3 separate regions of the Homo sapiens genome follow, and regions 1 and 3 are each linked to region 2. Evidence: promoter capture Hi-C in 16 types of primary human blood cells and fetal thymus (Javierre and others, 2016). All regions are on one chromosome and are shown on one strand. Each heading gives the region's core, a stretch centred on a gene start or on the middle of the fragment in contact. The rest is flanking DNA. Distances are from core to core; before and after follow the strand shown. Region 1 has its middle 17 kb from the start of OR13J1. Region 2 holds the start of NPR2 (natriuretic peptide receptor 2). Region 3 overlaps TMEM8B (transmembrane protein 8B).

Evidence for each region. The method cuts DNA at HindIII sites, captures the fragments that hold promoters and counts their contacts. A CHiCAGO score of 5 or more calls a contact.
Region 1: a contact is called between a fragment that was not itself captured here and the fragment with the promoter of NPR2 in region 2, in 13 of 17 cell types (neutrophils, naive B cells, naive CD4 T cells and 10 more). The highest score is 9.9, in neutrophils.
Region 3: a contact is called between a fragment that was not itself captured here and the fragment with the promoter of NPR2 in region 2, in 4 of 17 cell types (neutrophils, naive B cells, activated CD4 T cells and 1 more). The highest score is 6.3, in neutrophils.

The regions. Positions count from the first base shown.
Region 1 is chr9:35,884,727-35,889,441 of GRCh38, forward strand. No RefSeq gene overlaps it. Among named protein-coding and RNA genes, the nearest start is that of OR13J1, 17 kb to the left of the region's middle. The HindIII fragment of the contact is 8,845 bases long and covers 1-4,715 here.
Region 2 is chr9:35,787,912-35,792,840 of GRCh38, forward strand. NPR2 (natriuretic peptide receptor 2) reads left to right here and starts at 3,680. Exons shown (of 22, transcript NM_003995.4): 1 at 3,680-4,929. The coding sequence starts at 4,498. It also overlaps a transcript of RGP1 not described here. The HindIII fragment of the contact is 14,834 bases long and covers 1-4,929 here.
Region 3 is chr9:35,859,762-35,864,436 of GRCh38, forward strand. TMEM8B (transmembrane protein 8B) reads left to right here. Exons shown (of 13, transcript NM_001042590.4): 13 at 1-4,675. It also overlaps the pseudogene OR13E1P. Among named protein-coding and RNA genes, the nearest start is that of OR13J1, 8.3 kb to the right of the region's middle. The HindIII fragment of the contact is 3,766 bases long and covers 853-4,618 here.

The sequences.
Region 1 (4,715 bases), core at 1,153-3,652, 96 kb after region 2:
GCTGGCTAAGATCTTTGAGAATAATGTTGAAAAGAAGTAGTAAAAGCAGCCATCTTTGTCTTGCTTTTTTTTTTTTTTGTGACGGAGTCTCTGTCACCCAGGCTGGAGTGCAATGGTGTGATCTCGGCTCAATGCAACCTCTGCCTCCCGTGTTCAAGTGATTCTTCTGCCCCAGCCTCCTGAGTAGCTGGGACTGCAGGCACGTGCCATCATACATGGCTAATTTTTGTATTTTTAGTAGAGCCGGGTTTCACCATGTTGGCCAGGGTGGTCTCAAACTCTTGACCTCAGGTGATCCACCTGCCTCAGCCTCCCAAAGTGCTGGGATTACAGGTTTGTCTTGCTCTTGATCTTTAATGCTTTCAAGTATCTTTTATTTATTTATTTATTTATTTATTTATTTATTTATTTATTTATTTATTTGACACAGGGTCTTGCTCTTTCACCCAGGCTGGAGTACAGTGGCATGATCATGGTTCATTGTAGCTTTGATTTCCCGGGCTCAAGTGATCCTCCTGTCTCAGCTTCCTGAGTAGCAGCAGGGACTACAGACACACACTATCAAGCCCCAATAATTAAAAAAAAAATGTTTTTGGTAGAGACAGGGTCTCATCATGTTGTTCAGGCTGGTCTTGAACTCCTGGGCTCAAGGGATTCTTCCATCTTAGCCTCCCAAAGTGCTGGGATTACAGGCATGAGCCAGCATGCCCAGCTGCAAATATCAATATTAAGAATGATGTTTGATTTTAGATATTCTTTATTGGATTAAGAAAGTTTCTTTCTATTCCTAATTTGCTAAGCATTTTTTACAAATGTAATTTAATTGTTAAGTTAAAATTTATTTTTAATAGTCTGTTCATTTTTGCGGCACAATATTCAAAAGGCAGAAAAGGATATGTAGACAAACTCTCCCTTCCACTCATGTCACCTCATAACCTAGTTCTCTGCTCTGGACACTGTAACGAGGGTCATCTCACACACACACACACACACACACACACACACACACATTCCCCCTTTATTTTTCACCCAAATGAAGACATAATATATTACTGTTCTTCATTTGGTTTTTTTTCTCTAAGAGTTTTAAAATCAAAAATGAATGTTAAATTTTGTCCAATAGTCTTCACATCTATTGGGATGATAATATAGTCTTTCTTCTTTATTGTTTTAATATGATGAATTATGTCAATTGATTTTCTAATGGTAAATCACCCTTGTATTACCAGAAGAAATCTGGCTTTGTCATGATTTAGAAGGTTTTCCATACACGCCTGGATTTAATTTGTTAATATGTTTTCAGGATTTACATATATATTCATAAAGGATGTTGTGTCATAATTTTCCTTTTCTATAGGGTCTGGTCAGGTTTTGGTTTCAAGGTTATGCTAGCTTATAATATTTTTCTATACTGGGATAGTTTGTGCAAGTTGGACCTATTTGCAACTAGTCTTCACCTTGTGGGAGGATTTTAACTACTGACAATTTTTTAAATGGTTATAAGTTTTCTATCATATCACAAATCAGTTTAGGCAAATTACGTATTTTTAGGACTTTTTCTACTTCATCTAGGTTTTCAAGTTAATTTGTTATATTTTCTTTTTTGTTTTTTTTGGGAACAGCTTTATTAGATATACCATACAATTCAGCCATTTTAAGTGTACAATTCAGGGCTGGTCGCAGTGGGTCACACCTGTAATCCCAGCACTTTGGAAGGCTGAGGTGGGCAGATCACCTGAGATCAGGAGTTCGAGACCAGCCTGGCCAACATGGTGAAACCCTGTCTCTATGAAAAACACAAAAATTAGCCAGGCATGGTGGTCTGTAATCCCAGCTCAGGAGGCTGAGGGGGGAAAAATCACATGAATCGGGCAGGCGGAGGTTGCAGTGAGCCAAGACTGCGCCATTGCACTCCAACCTGGGCAACAGAGTGAGACCCTGTCTCAAAAACAAACAAACAAACAAACAAATAAATAAAGAGTGTAATTCATAGGCTTTTAGCATATACACAGAGTCGAACTGCCATCACCACAAGCAATTTTAGAACATTTTCATCACCTCAAAAAGAAATCTGGTACCCTGTAGCTATCCTCCTGTGCCCCCATCCTCCAATCCCTAAGCAACCACTAACCTACTTTCTGATCCTACAAATTTGCCTATTCTTCACGTTTCATATAAATGTAATCATATAATATATGATTTTTTGTAACTGATTTTCTACTTAGCATGCTGTTTTTAAGGTTCATCTATGTTCTAGCATGTATCAATACTTCATTCCTTTTATGGCTGAATAATGTTTCATTGTCCGGCTATACTACATTTTATTTATCTATTTATCAGTTGATAGATATCTGGGTTGTCTCCACCTTTTAGCAATTACAAATAGTGCTGCTATAAATATTTGTGTACAAGTCTTTGTGTGAACATAGATTTTCATTTTTCATTTCTCTTGGTGTATATCTAGGAGTGGAATTGTTGGGCCATGTGGTAACTCTATGTTTAACCTTTTGAGGAACTGCCAGGCTGTTTTCCAAAGCAGCTGCACAATTTTACATTCCCACCAGGAGAGTATGAGGTTTCTGACTTGTCCACATCCTTGTGAATACTTACTACTACCTGACTTTTTGATTTTAGTCATCCTAATGGGTGTGAAGTGGTATCTCATTGTGGCTTTGATTTGCAACCAGATGCTTAATGACGTTGAACATCTTATCATGTGCTTATTGGTCATTTTTATATCTTCTTTGAAGAAATGTCTATTCAAGTTCTTTGCCTATTTTTAAGTTGGGTTGTTTGTCTTCTTATTAATGAGTTGTAAGAGTTATATATTCTACATATAAGCCCCTTATCAGATATATTATTTGCAAATATTTTCTTCCATTCTTTGAATTCTCTTCTCACTTTTTTTTTTTTTTTTTTTTTGAGACAGAGTCTCACTCTGTTGCCCAGGCTGGAGTGCAGTGGCACAATCTTGGCTGACTGCAATCTCCACCTGCCGGGTTCAAGCGATTCTTGTGCCTCAGCCTCCCAAGTAGCTGGGATTACAGGCACATGCCACCTCGCCTGGCTAATTTTTGTATTTTTAGTAGAGATGGGATTTCACCATGTTGCCCAGGCTGGTCTTGAATTCCTGACCTTCAGCCTCCCAGAATATCCCTTCCTGGGATTACAGACGTGAGCCACCATGCCCGGCCTCTTCTCACTTCTTAATGGTGTATTTGGAGCACAAAACTTTATTTTATTTTTATTTTTATTTATTTATTTATTTTTTGAGACAGAGTCTCGCTCTTTCGCCCAGGCCGGAGTGCAGTGGCACTATCTCGGCTCACTGCAAGCTCCGCCTCCCGGGTTCATGCCATTCCTCTGCCTCAGCCTCCCGAGTAGCTGGGACTACAGGCCCACGCCACCGCGCCCGGCTAATTTTTTGTATTTTTAGTAGAGACGGGGTTTCACCGTGTTAGCCAGGATGGTCTCGACCTCCTGACCTCGTGATCTGCCTGCCTCGGCCTCCGAAAGTGCTGGGATTACAGGCGTGAGCCACAGCGCCCGGCCAAAACTTTATTTTTAATGAAGTCCAATTTATCTAGTTTTTCTTTTATTGCTTGTGTATTTGCTATCATATTTAAGATTCCATTGCCAAAGTCAAGAGCATAAAGATGTATGCTTATGTTTTATTCCCAGAATTTTATAGTTTTAGCTATTACATTTAGATCTTCGATCTATTTTTGTATTTGGCGTATGGTAAGTGTCCAACTTTATTCTTTGCATTTGGATATCCAGGTGTCCAAGCACCATTTGTTGAAAACACTATTCTTTTTCCATTAAATGTTCTTGGTATCTGCTTCTAATTTTTTGCAGAGTTTGTGAAACATTCATATTAATGCTTTAAATGTTTGGTAAAATTCACCAGTGAAGCTATGTGGGCCTGTGCTTTTCTTTGTAGGGTAGTTTTTAAAATTACTAATCTAATCTCTTTATAGGTCTATTTAGATTTTTAATTTATTCTTGAGTCAGTTTTGGTAATTTCTGCCTTCCTAGAAAGTTGTCCATTTCATCTAAGTTATCTATTTTTTTGGCACACATTTGTTATAGTGTTTTTTATAATTTTTTTTTTATATGTGTAAGATTGGTAGTGATGTCTCTCATTTCTGGTTCTAGTAATTTGAGTCTTTTCTCTTTTTTTTCTTGGTTAATCTAGCTAAAGATTTGAAATTTAGTTGACTTTTTAAAATATCCAACTTGGCGGGGCACGGTGACTCACGCCTGTAACCCCAGCACTTTGGGAGGCTGAGGTCAGGAGTTTGAGACCAGCCTGGCCAATATGGCAAAACCCCGTCTCTACTAATAATACAAAAATTAGCTGGGCATGGTCGTGTAGGCCTATAGTCCCAGCTCCTCAGGAGGCTGAGGTGGGAGGATTACTTGAGCCTGGGAGGTGGAGGTTACAGTAAACCGAGATTGTGCCACTGTGCTCCAGCCTGGGTGACAGAGTGAGACCCTGTCTCAAAAAAAAAAAAAAAAAAAGAAAGAAAAGAAAAAAAATCCAACTTGTGGTTTTGTTAATTTTCTCTAGTTTTTCTATTCTCTATTTCATTAGTTTCTACTCCAATGTTTGTTATTTCCTTACTTCCTCTTGCTGTATCTTTTCATTTGTTTTAAAATATATGAAGTATCTGTGATATCCTTTTTAAAAATTTTTATTTGTGCTTTCACTG
Region 2 (4,929 bases), core at 2,430-4,929:
TCAAAGCCCATTTCTGCTAGTCAGGTCAGCAGAGAAGATATTTTGTTTTCTGGAATTCTGTAGGCCTGGGAGGCATGATCTGGTGTAGAACAAACCTGAGGATCCAGATTCAGCTGCACAAATAGGTTTGTTATAAAACGTTTAATGCTGTCAGTTTGGGGCATCAGAGCCTATCACGAAAATTAGCATGAGCCCGAATCCCATGGTGGTTGCAGAGCTCAACTAGGGTCTTGAGGCACCTTTGGCCTGAGTGTAACCAGGATTAGGATTTCTTTTGAAGAAGGGACAGGGCAGCTTGGAAACCATAGGAGATTCTAGCAGCTGGCCAATTTGATGCTCTGCAGTTTAGTTCTGGATCAGAAATAAGGTGTTTGGGGCCGGGCGTGGTGGCTTACGCCTGTAATCCCAGCACTTTGGGAATCTGAGGCGAGTGGATCACTTGAGGTCAGGAGTTCGAGACCAGCTGGCCAACATGGTGAAACGCTGTCTCTACTAAAAACAAAAATTAGCTGGGCATGGTGGCGGGCGCCTGTAATCCCAGCTACTTGGAAGGCTGAGGCAGGAGAATCACTTGAACCTGGGAGATGGAGGTTGCAGTGAGCCGAGATTGCGCCACTACATTCCAGCCTGAGTAACAGAGTGAGACTCTGTCTCAAAAAAAGAAAAAAAAAAAAAGAAAAAGAAAGAGGGTGTTGATTGACCCTATCCAGAAGAAATTATAGCTGGTATCTGTTTGTGGATTAGAAGAAGGCCATGACAGTGCTACAAAGAGAAAGTTGGACCCTAGCTGGTTGCTGCTTAGGCCAGTAGAATCTAGATTTCCTAGGTTTTCTATGTATTGCAGCATGGTCACCAAATACAGCCAAAATATTATTGCCCATATCAATGACAGCAGTGATAGCTTGGATAGTGGGATATATACATAACCGAAGTTCTCATTTATTTAATATTTTCAGCTTTCCCTCAAACATGAAAAAATAAACACCAAAAGCCTTTCACTGTGTGTTAATAAAAAACCTCATTAGGGGATTTATCTTTTATCTCCCCACTCCTTCCCACTTCCCTTTTGTCTTTTAAATTTTATTTTTAGTTTTTACTTATGTTTTCTTTTCCTTTCTTTCTTTCTTTTTTCTTTTGAGATGGAGTCTTGCTCTGTCGCACAGTGGCGCGATCTCTGCTCACTGCAATGTCCGCCTCCCAGATTCAAGCGGTTTTCCTGCCCCAGCCTCCCAAGTAGCTGGGATTACAGGTGCCCACCACCACGCCCAGCTAATTTTTGTGTTTTTAGTAGAGACGAGATTTCACCTTGTTGGCCAGCCTAGTCTCGAACTCCTGACCTCAAACAATCCTCCTACCTTGGCCTCCTAAAGTGCTGGGATTACAGGCGTGAGCCACTGCACCAGGCTCCTTCCACTTCCTTTTTTTTTTTTTTTTTTTTTGAGACAGGGTCTTGCTGTCACCCAGGCTGCCTCTATCCTCTGGGATCAAGCGATCCCCCCACCTCAGCCTCCCAAGTAGCTGGGACCACAGGTTCGTGCCACCATATCTGATTGATTTGTTTGGTTTTTAATAGAGATTATAGGCATTACAGGCAAGAGCCACCGTGCCTGGCCCCTTCCTACTTTCTAGTTAACTGGCCAACTGGGAGGAAAAGGGAAAGGCAAGATGCTTGAATGTTTAATCCCTAACATAATGAAGAATAGTCCTTAATGTTCAGAATAATGACATATGATGCACTTGTACTTGCGTAGGAGTCTGGGTGACAGTGGTGGCTGATCCTCACTGAGGGCTGCAGGTGTTCCAGAGAGACTTGCCTGGGTTTGGTGGCTATTATATTGTAAGCACAGCTTTCTACAGTAAGTTCCATGAGTCAGCAAAATATCTATAAAGAGCCTCTCCTTGGAGACCATGAAACCTGCATTTTAATCTCTCTTTTGCAACTAAAAAGCCATGTGGGATTGGGGGAGAGGAGCAAGTAAGGACACTGCGACCTTCCTCTCTGGGATTTGGTTTTCAATTATCTTTAAATGAGAGGGCTAAACAATATATTTATATGATCCTCTTAGCCCTGCCATTCTGTAATTCTTTCAGGAATTTTGTCATTTTGGATTTGCTTGTCTCATAAAACAATGTGTAGTTGCTTAAAAATCAACTATTCTATTTGGTTGACTTGGTCTAAAGTATTTCTCATGTTGTCTCGTCATTCTTTTGACTGTTCCTTTTTTTTTTTTTTGCCTTGGCCAGATAGGACAAAATTCCTTTTCACTGCAGTATTGGGAGCCTGGAACTAGAGTTACCAACCCCTCTGCGTTAAAGAAGGAGCTGTCCTGAGGCTTCCATCTCTACTGGGCTTGAGGCAAGAACATTGTTAGGGACGGCCTGCTCTTGGCCTCTGTGCCCCAGGGATTGCAAATGCATGTTCCTCAAAGGTAAGGGCTGTATCATTCGGCTTTCTTTGTATTCACAGGTACAGCTTGTGCTAGGCAGCCGGTGTTCAATAAATATCGTGCCTAAGGATAAAGTGGCATTGTCCTTAATTTCCCCCACCAAACCACTAGGTGTCGCCTTCATCTCAGGGAAACCATGCCCGTCCTCGCCCTATACACTCCCACCCCACTCCAGGGCTCCAGGAGCGCTCTTAGCTTGTGATTTCTGGAGAAATAGCTTGAAGGGGGGAGAGAAACCGTGGCTCTTAGCGCGGGCAGAGAATGGGCTTATGTGCATGTCCTTTATGACAGTTGGAGAAAAATCCCCAAGGTCCCATAGCAGTCCCTCTCAGCCACCATGAGATCATCCCTCACAAGCTGTTCTTGGGGTCAGATTGGCACTCCAGATATGAGGGCCCTAGGGAGAGCTTCCTAAGGGAAGCTGGGAGCAAGGTGGAACCCCAGGAGAGCGTGGATGGGCTTCCACTGCGGGGAGTGTCCCGCCGGTCCGTTACAGGCTTTCCCCAGGCGCCAGCCTGCGCTGTGCAGGAGACAAAAGAAAATCGAGGCCCTGACTGAGCAGATGGTGCGGAGGAAGCCGGGCGGGCTGCGGTGGGCCTCTGAGGACACGAGGAGGGCAGGGGGCATGGAGACAGCGGGGGGCCGAGAGTTGAGTCCCAAGCAAGAAGGAGCCTCGTGGACTTTCTAAGGACTGGTGGGAAGTGTACAGCAGGGGCCCCTGGCTGCTGGAGGGGCCCGTCCAGGGAGCGGGCATGGTCCGCGGTGGAGTAAGCCGCACTGCCGTCGGGAGGGCGCTATGGTTTGCTAGGTGAGGGGGCTGGTGAGGATACCACACGTCTGGGGATCCTCGACTGCTTCCTGGAGACTGGAACCACTGAGGGACTCAGGGAGTTCAGAGGGGAGACCCAAGAAGAACGGGCTGAGCGAGGGGGAGAGGACAAACCCTGGGGTCGCTGGCGTGTGTGAGATGGAAATGGAAGGAGGGGCGGCAGGGGGACCAGGGGCGTGGGGGAGACCAGGGTAGGCCCTGAGAGTGAGGGAGCGCCCGGGAACCCTGCTGGCCGGCGAGGCCTTGGTGCGGAGCCCCCAAGTGCTCACCGGGGTGGGTTTGGGACCTGGCGGTCCCGAGCGCCCGGGTGGGGGGTGGGGGAAGGCAGCCGGCGCCGGAGGGTGGGGCCGGGAGGGAGGAGGAGAGGCAGCGGGGGAGGGGCGGGGGCGGGCGGCCTGCCCGGGGGAGTCGCACTCGGCCGCCGGCGCAGCGAGCGGAGACGGGCCGGGCCGAGGCGACCTGACCCGGACGAGCGGCGCGCGCGGGGCCCAGGCGGGGGGCGGGAGGAAGCGCCGGGCAGCGCCGGCCGCCAGGGCCCAGGAGAAGCGGAGCAGAGAGGAGCGGGGACACGGGCGGGGCCGCCGTAGCTCCGGATGGGACCAGCGCCCGGGCCCGTTAGTCCAAGCAGGAGCTCCGGGAGAATCCTTCACAGGGAGATTTACCCCTGCCTTCCCCTGCCCTCCGGCCCAGGCCTCGCTTCGCTCCCCGCCTGCCCATGATCCCAGTCCTTCCGCGGCGCGGGCACCCTCCCACCTTACCCCCTTGGTCCTATGTGGCGCAGCGCCCTCCTGCCCTCCCGGCCCTTTCAGCTGTGAGGTTCCCCCAGGCCGTTTCTTTGTACCACCCGCCCCCCACCCCCACCCCATCCCAGTCCCAGATCCCCTTTTCCTTCTCAGCTTTAGATTTATCAGGCTTCTTCACCTCGCACTGTCCCCATCCTGGCCGCAGGCCCCCTCGGTCCCTCCCTCCCCCTGCCACCCCGTTCTCAGTCCTCAGTCCTTGCCCTAGGCTGGTAGCCCACTCCTTGCCCGCCCCCCGCCTTCCTCCCATCTCCCCCTCCTCTCCCCGGCCCCCAGCACCTTCTGCATCCCAGCCTACCTAGCCTACTCCTCCTCTTCCTGGCCCTCTTCCCCAGGCTCCAGGCTGGGGGGTGCTCGCGTCTCCCCTGTAGGCCAGAGCAGCCCCAAGTTCTGGGGGCGGTGGGGCTGCTGCTTTATCCCCATGGCGCTGCCATCACTTCTGCTGTTGGTGGCAGCCCTGGCAGGTGGGGTGCGTCCTCCCGGGGCGCGGAACCTGACGCTGGCGGTGGTGCTGCCAGAACACAACCTGAGCTATGCCTGGGCCTGGCCACGGGTGGGACCCGCTGTGGCACTAGCTGTGGAGGCTCTGGGCCGGGCACTGCCCGTGGACCTGCGGTTTGTCAGCTCCGAACTGGAAGGCGCCTGCTCTGAGTACCTGGCACCGCTGAGCGCTGTGGACCTCAAGCTGTACCATGACCCCGACCTGCTGTTAGGTCCCGGTTGCGTGTACCCTGCTGCCTCTGTGGCCCGCTTTGCCTCCCACTGGCGCCTTCCCCTGCTGACTGCGGGTGCTGTGGCCTCTGGTTTTTCGGCTAAGAATGACCATTATCGTACCCTGGTTCGCACTGGCCCC
Region 3 (4,675 bases), core at 1,486-3,985, 71 kb after region 2:
AGGTGCCGCAGATGTCCATGAGGGAGAGGTTGCTGAGAAGTACATGGGGTTGTGCAGGCGAGGGTGCAGCACGTTCAGCCCTATGAGGAGGGCGTTCCCCAACACATTCACGGAGTAGATGCCCAGGCAGAACACAAACAGGACCACCTCCAGGTTACAGTGCTCGTGTAGCCCCATCAGGACGTATTCCGTCACAGCTGTCTGGTTTGCCCACTTCATCTCATTCTCTCTCCTTTTCCATCTGGACCACCCAGCTTTTTGGAAAAAGCTCCAACTGGCCTGGGAGCCCAGTGACCTGATGTCTGAGCTGCAGCAGGTCAGCCTCCCTCTCTGGAATTTAGTTTCACCATCTGTATAATGAGGGAGTTGGACTTCAGATCTGCAATCTGGCCTTCTCAGCGCTGCAGTTCTGTGGACGTCACTGAGGGGAGGATGGGGCACATTCTAGTCCCCTAGGCTCCTCTCTGCTCTCCCCAGGATGGGGTCAGAGGAGACAGCAGAGAAAGATTCATGTTTAAAATGATCGTTTGGAATCCAAAGTGTTTTTGGTCATTAACAGGAAGCATCTTTTCTACATTACGGTTTCATGTGACCAAATTATGGCCATAGTATTTCAGATTTATTCATCCACTAAGTATTTATTAAGTACCTATTCTGTGCTAGGTATCAGGTGCTGGGGCTATAGCAGTAAGGAAAGTAAGTGGACAAAAGGATTCCACACCTGTCACAGGCGCTGCCCCACTCCCTGAGTCAGGTGAGATGAGCTCCGGAAGGCAGGTGGGTAATGGATGATGCTCACCTAGTGTTCCTTGGGCCATGAAGATCAAATATTTCAGCCCCATAGGATGTGTAAGCTTGATTTCTGGTCATCTCTCCTTAAGGAATCATGGACCATTCATTATTTTGTTTAAAAGGACACATAAGAACGTACATGTCTCAATAGAGTTACTGGTCACAGGACTGAACTGTGGTCATGAAAGCCAAGCAACTTACTTTCTGGCCTCCATATTGCTTTGTAGGAGAAATGATACTGACAATGATGTCACACGAGGAGGGAAGCCAGGCACGAATCTGGTGGAGGTGCGGTCAGTTGTGACCAGCTTTGCAAAGGGAGCGGTGGGCGAGGCTGTGGTCTCTCCCAGGTGACCTCCATCGCCATGCAGAGCTGCTCTCACTTCTCCTCGGGAAAGGCCAGCGTCAGGTATTCCTAGGAGGAAGCCCAGGTGTGTCCAGAGAACAGTAGTCTTGTTAGAACTGGAAAAATGTCTTATGGCCAGGTGGCCCCTGGTCTGAAGGAAAAATAGGAGCTGAGTGTGAACTTTTATCACTCAGAAGATATAATCCACCTCTCCCCTCCTGCCCTTCGCTCCTGGGTTGGTTGTGAGGACAGTGCTTTGTGACAGCAGTGGAGCCCTGTCTGTCCTTCCGGGCTAGATTTCTTCTTTCTCTTATTCCTCCTGTTTCGTTGTATCCACGATTTGTCGAGTTGCAGGGCTCACCCTTTCCTGAAGAAACCATCTCTTTTCCCAGCTCCGCACCTTTGTCCGAGATGGAGGCGTGTCCTCCCGCCCATCCCCAGTGGGGGGTGTTCTGCCCATTCTCCAGAGCCCAGCACTGCTCCATCTCTTTTCCTCCCTCTCCTTCCCCTTGCTGTTACCTGCTGCCTTCTTGTGCTCCCACTGCCCTTGGCCATCCCTCTGTGTCATTGTGCGCTGTGGTGCACCTGTCTTCTCTACTACACCTTAAGAGCAGGACTCTGCCTCCTTCCTACCAGCACCTCATGCAGCAAGTGCTGCCAATAGCAGGCACCCAGCAGATAGCGAATGCACGACTCCAAAACCCAGCTTTGCCTCCTGGCTGTAGTTCAGACTAGCTGTGTGACACTGACCAAGACACTTGACCTCTCTCAGACTCAGCTTCCTCCTTGAAGACTGGGATGCTATGTAGCTCAGAGGAAACATACACCTGAAGGTGCTGCCCCGGGGGGTGCAATGACCTGTTACTGAGGCTGGATGGAGGATGGCATCCATCATCAGCTACAGGTGCCTCCTCTATCTACAGGTTCCTGCTCCATCTATACTAGCCACCTCCTGGACAAGGGCTCCAGTGTCCTCCATGACACCAGCTTTCTCCAGAGCCTGTGCAGGATTTCCTTCCTCTACCCTGAATCAGGGTGATTCTTAAAGGACAGTTTCAGGAACATATAGGGGCACTTGGGTAATCTTGGTCAGTAACTGACCTTTAACTATCATCCATGTGAACATCTACAGTTAGGGATTTTCTTGGTGATGTTTGGCAAAAAGTAAAGAATTCCCCAAGTGTGAAGCCTCATTCATTCACTTATTCAACAAATAGTTATTGAGCACCTACTATGTGTTAGGCCCTGGGCCAGGTGCTGGGAATACAGCAGAGACAGACCTGGCTCCTGCCCTCATGGAGTTTGCAGTCATTCATTCACTCACTCGGTGACTTTGGACACCTCCCCCTCCTCTCTCCAGGCTTTAGATCTCTGAGATTCTCTCTGAGTCTGGGATGTAAAGACAAAGTAAAACCTGAAATCTGGAAAGCAGAACTATAAGAGCTTTGTTTCTGATGGGGGTGTTGCTGCAGACAGAACTATGTCCATCTCAAATTCTGACACTGGACACAGGCGTGGGGGTTTCAAGCAGGCCAAGGGTGGGAAACCACCTGACTGCATTTTTCTTTATCACTCACACCTCTAACAGTAAGACCAAGTGGGCCTGGCGGAGGCATTTGAGGGCTTTTGTGTGTGCAGGCTCTGGCCCGTCCTCCTGCCTTGCCTCCACCGCATCCCTCATGCACACCTGCTGCAGCCTCATCAGACCACTCCCTGTCTTTTGGACAAAGCCTGTGTGCTCCAGTCCCATCCCTCTTCTTGGGCAGTTTCTTCAGGCTGGAGTGCCTTTCTTTTCTACTCATCCTTCAAGGCTCAGTTCACACACCACTGTCTCGTGCAGCCTTCTCTCAGATGGCTTCATAAAACTGACCACCCGGACAACAAGATGGTCACACAGCTATTAGTGGAGGTTAAGTTCATTCTGCCTTCATTATAGTTCATTTTTCTTGTATATCTCTCTCTGACTAGACTATGAGCTATTGCAGTGAAAGGGCTGTGTCCTTCATCACTGTCACCCTCCAGTGACCCGCAGCCAGGAGGTGTCAGTGATTGCCATTTGAGTTGAACTATTTATTGACATCCAGTGTTGTTCTGCCAAAAATCCTGATCCTAGGCATGGTGGTTTGCACCTGTGGTCACAGCTACTCAGAAGGCTGAGGTGGGAGGAGTACTTGAGCCCAGGAGTTCGAGGTTACAGTGAACTATGATTGTGCCACTGCACTCCAGCCTGGGCAACAGAGTGAGGCCCTTTCTCTAAAAAAGCAAACGAAGAACGCTGAACCCAAGGTCTTGCCTCAAAATCAATTCCCCCTTCCCCCTCCAACACATACACCGCAACAGAATGATACAGCTATTGTGATTGCTAGGAGAAGGGCTTTGGGCAGTGCCAGTCTCCTGTTTGCAGTAACACCTGCTCTTTCTGAAGAGCTACATCAGTAACATGGTGGGTTTTCCTCACAACTTAAAAGTCTGATCGTAACACATTCATGGAAACTAGAACCAGCACACGAAACCATTGGCTTGTGGCCCTAAAGAAATAACTCTGTGTCCAGAAAATGCCATGTTACCAGGTTGCCTACAGCTTTGCCTGTAACATGGGCACAGGCTGGGACATCAGATAGAAGCTGGTTCCCATGGTGGCTGGGTTGGGATGGGCTAAGTTATGTTGCAGTAACGTACAACCTCATCATTTTAGTGGCTAGCATGACGAAGTTTTATTTCTCATGCTACATGTCTACTGTGGCTTTCCCGGTGGCTCAGGGTTCTCAGAGCCCCTGGCAGATGGAGGCTCCACCCTGTGGGACGTCACCAGTTGTTATGGCTGGGGAAGGACACACTGGAGGCTCTTGCTGCTCTGAGCCACAGGAGACATTTGTCATATCTGCACACAGCCCACTGGCCCTGCGGCATCCTACCACCTGCCCAGAAGGAGGAGAACCAGAATTACTGCTGAGCAGCTCCTCTGCATGTGGGTGCAATGGCGTCTTATGACTCTCAGAAAGCTACTCTAGTGGCCATCTACCAGTGTCACGCAGTGTCACGCTCGGTCATGGCCTGGAAGATCAGAGTCACAGAGGGATAGGACCTGGAGTGTCTCTGAAAATAGCTGCCTGGTTTCACTCCCCGGTTTTACGCCTCTTGAGAAGCAGAGTGATGCCTAGAATGAGCCCTGGACTGGGAGGGCACGTCCCAGGTTTGAATCGGGGCCTTTGTTCCTTTTCTGCTGTATGACTTTGGTCAGATTTCTCCTTCTGAGAAGTGGAGCCAATTAAGCGATCTCCGATATGCTGTAATCTCTGAAACATTTCCTCATATGTTTCTAGCAACTTCCAACCTGAGGTCTGATAGACCCAGGGTTACTTTGCAAGCTAACTGACATATCAGTCTCATTGTCTGGTAAATCTAATTTTAACCACTTAATACTTATTTTAGGCTTCACAAATTATTTTAAAAGAAAAGATAGGGGCATAACAAGAAGAAAGCTTCGGTTACAATTTCCCCGAAATGCCTGGATCTGGGATTCCTGCTTCCTGGCTG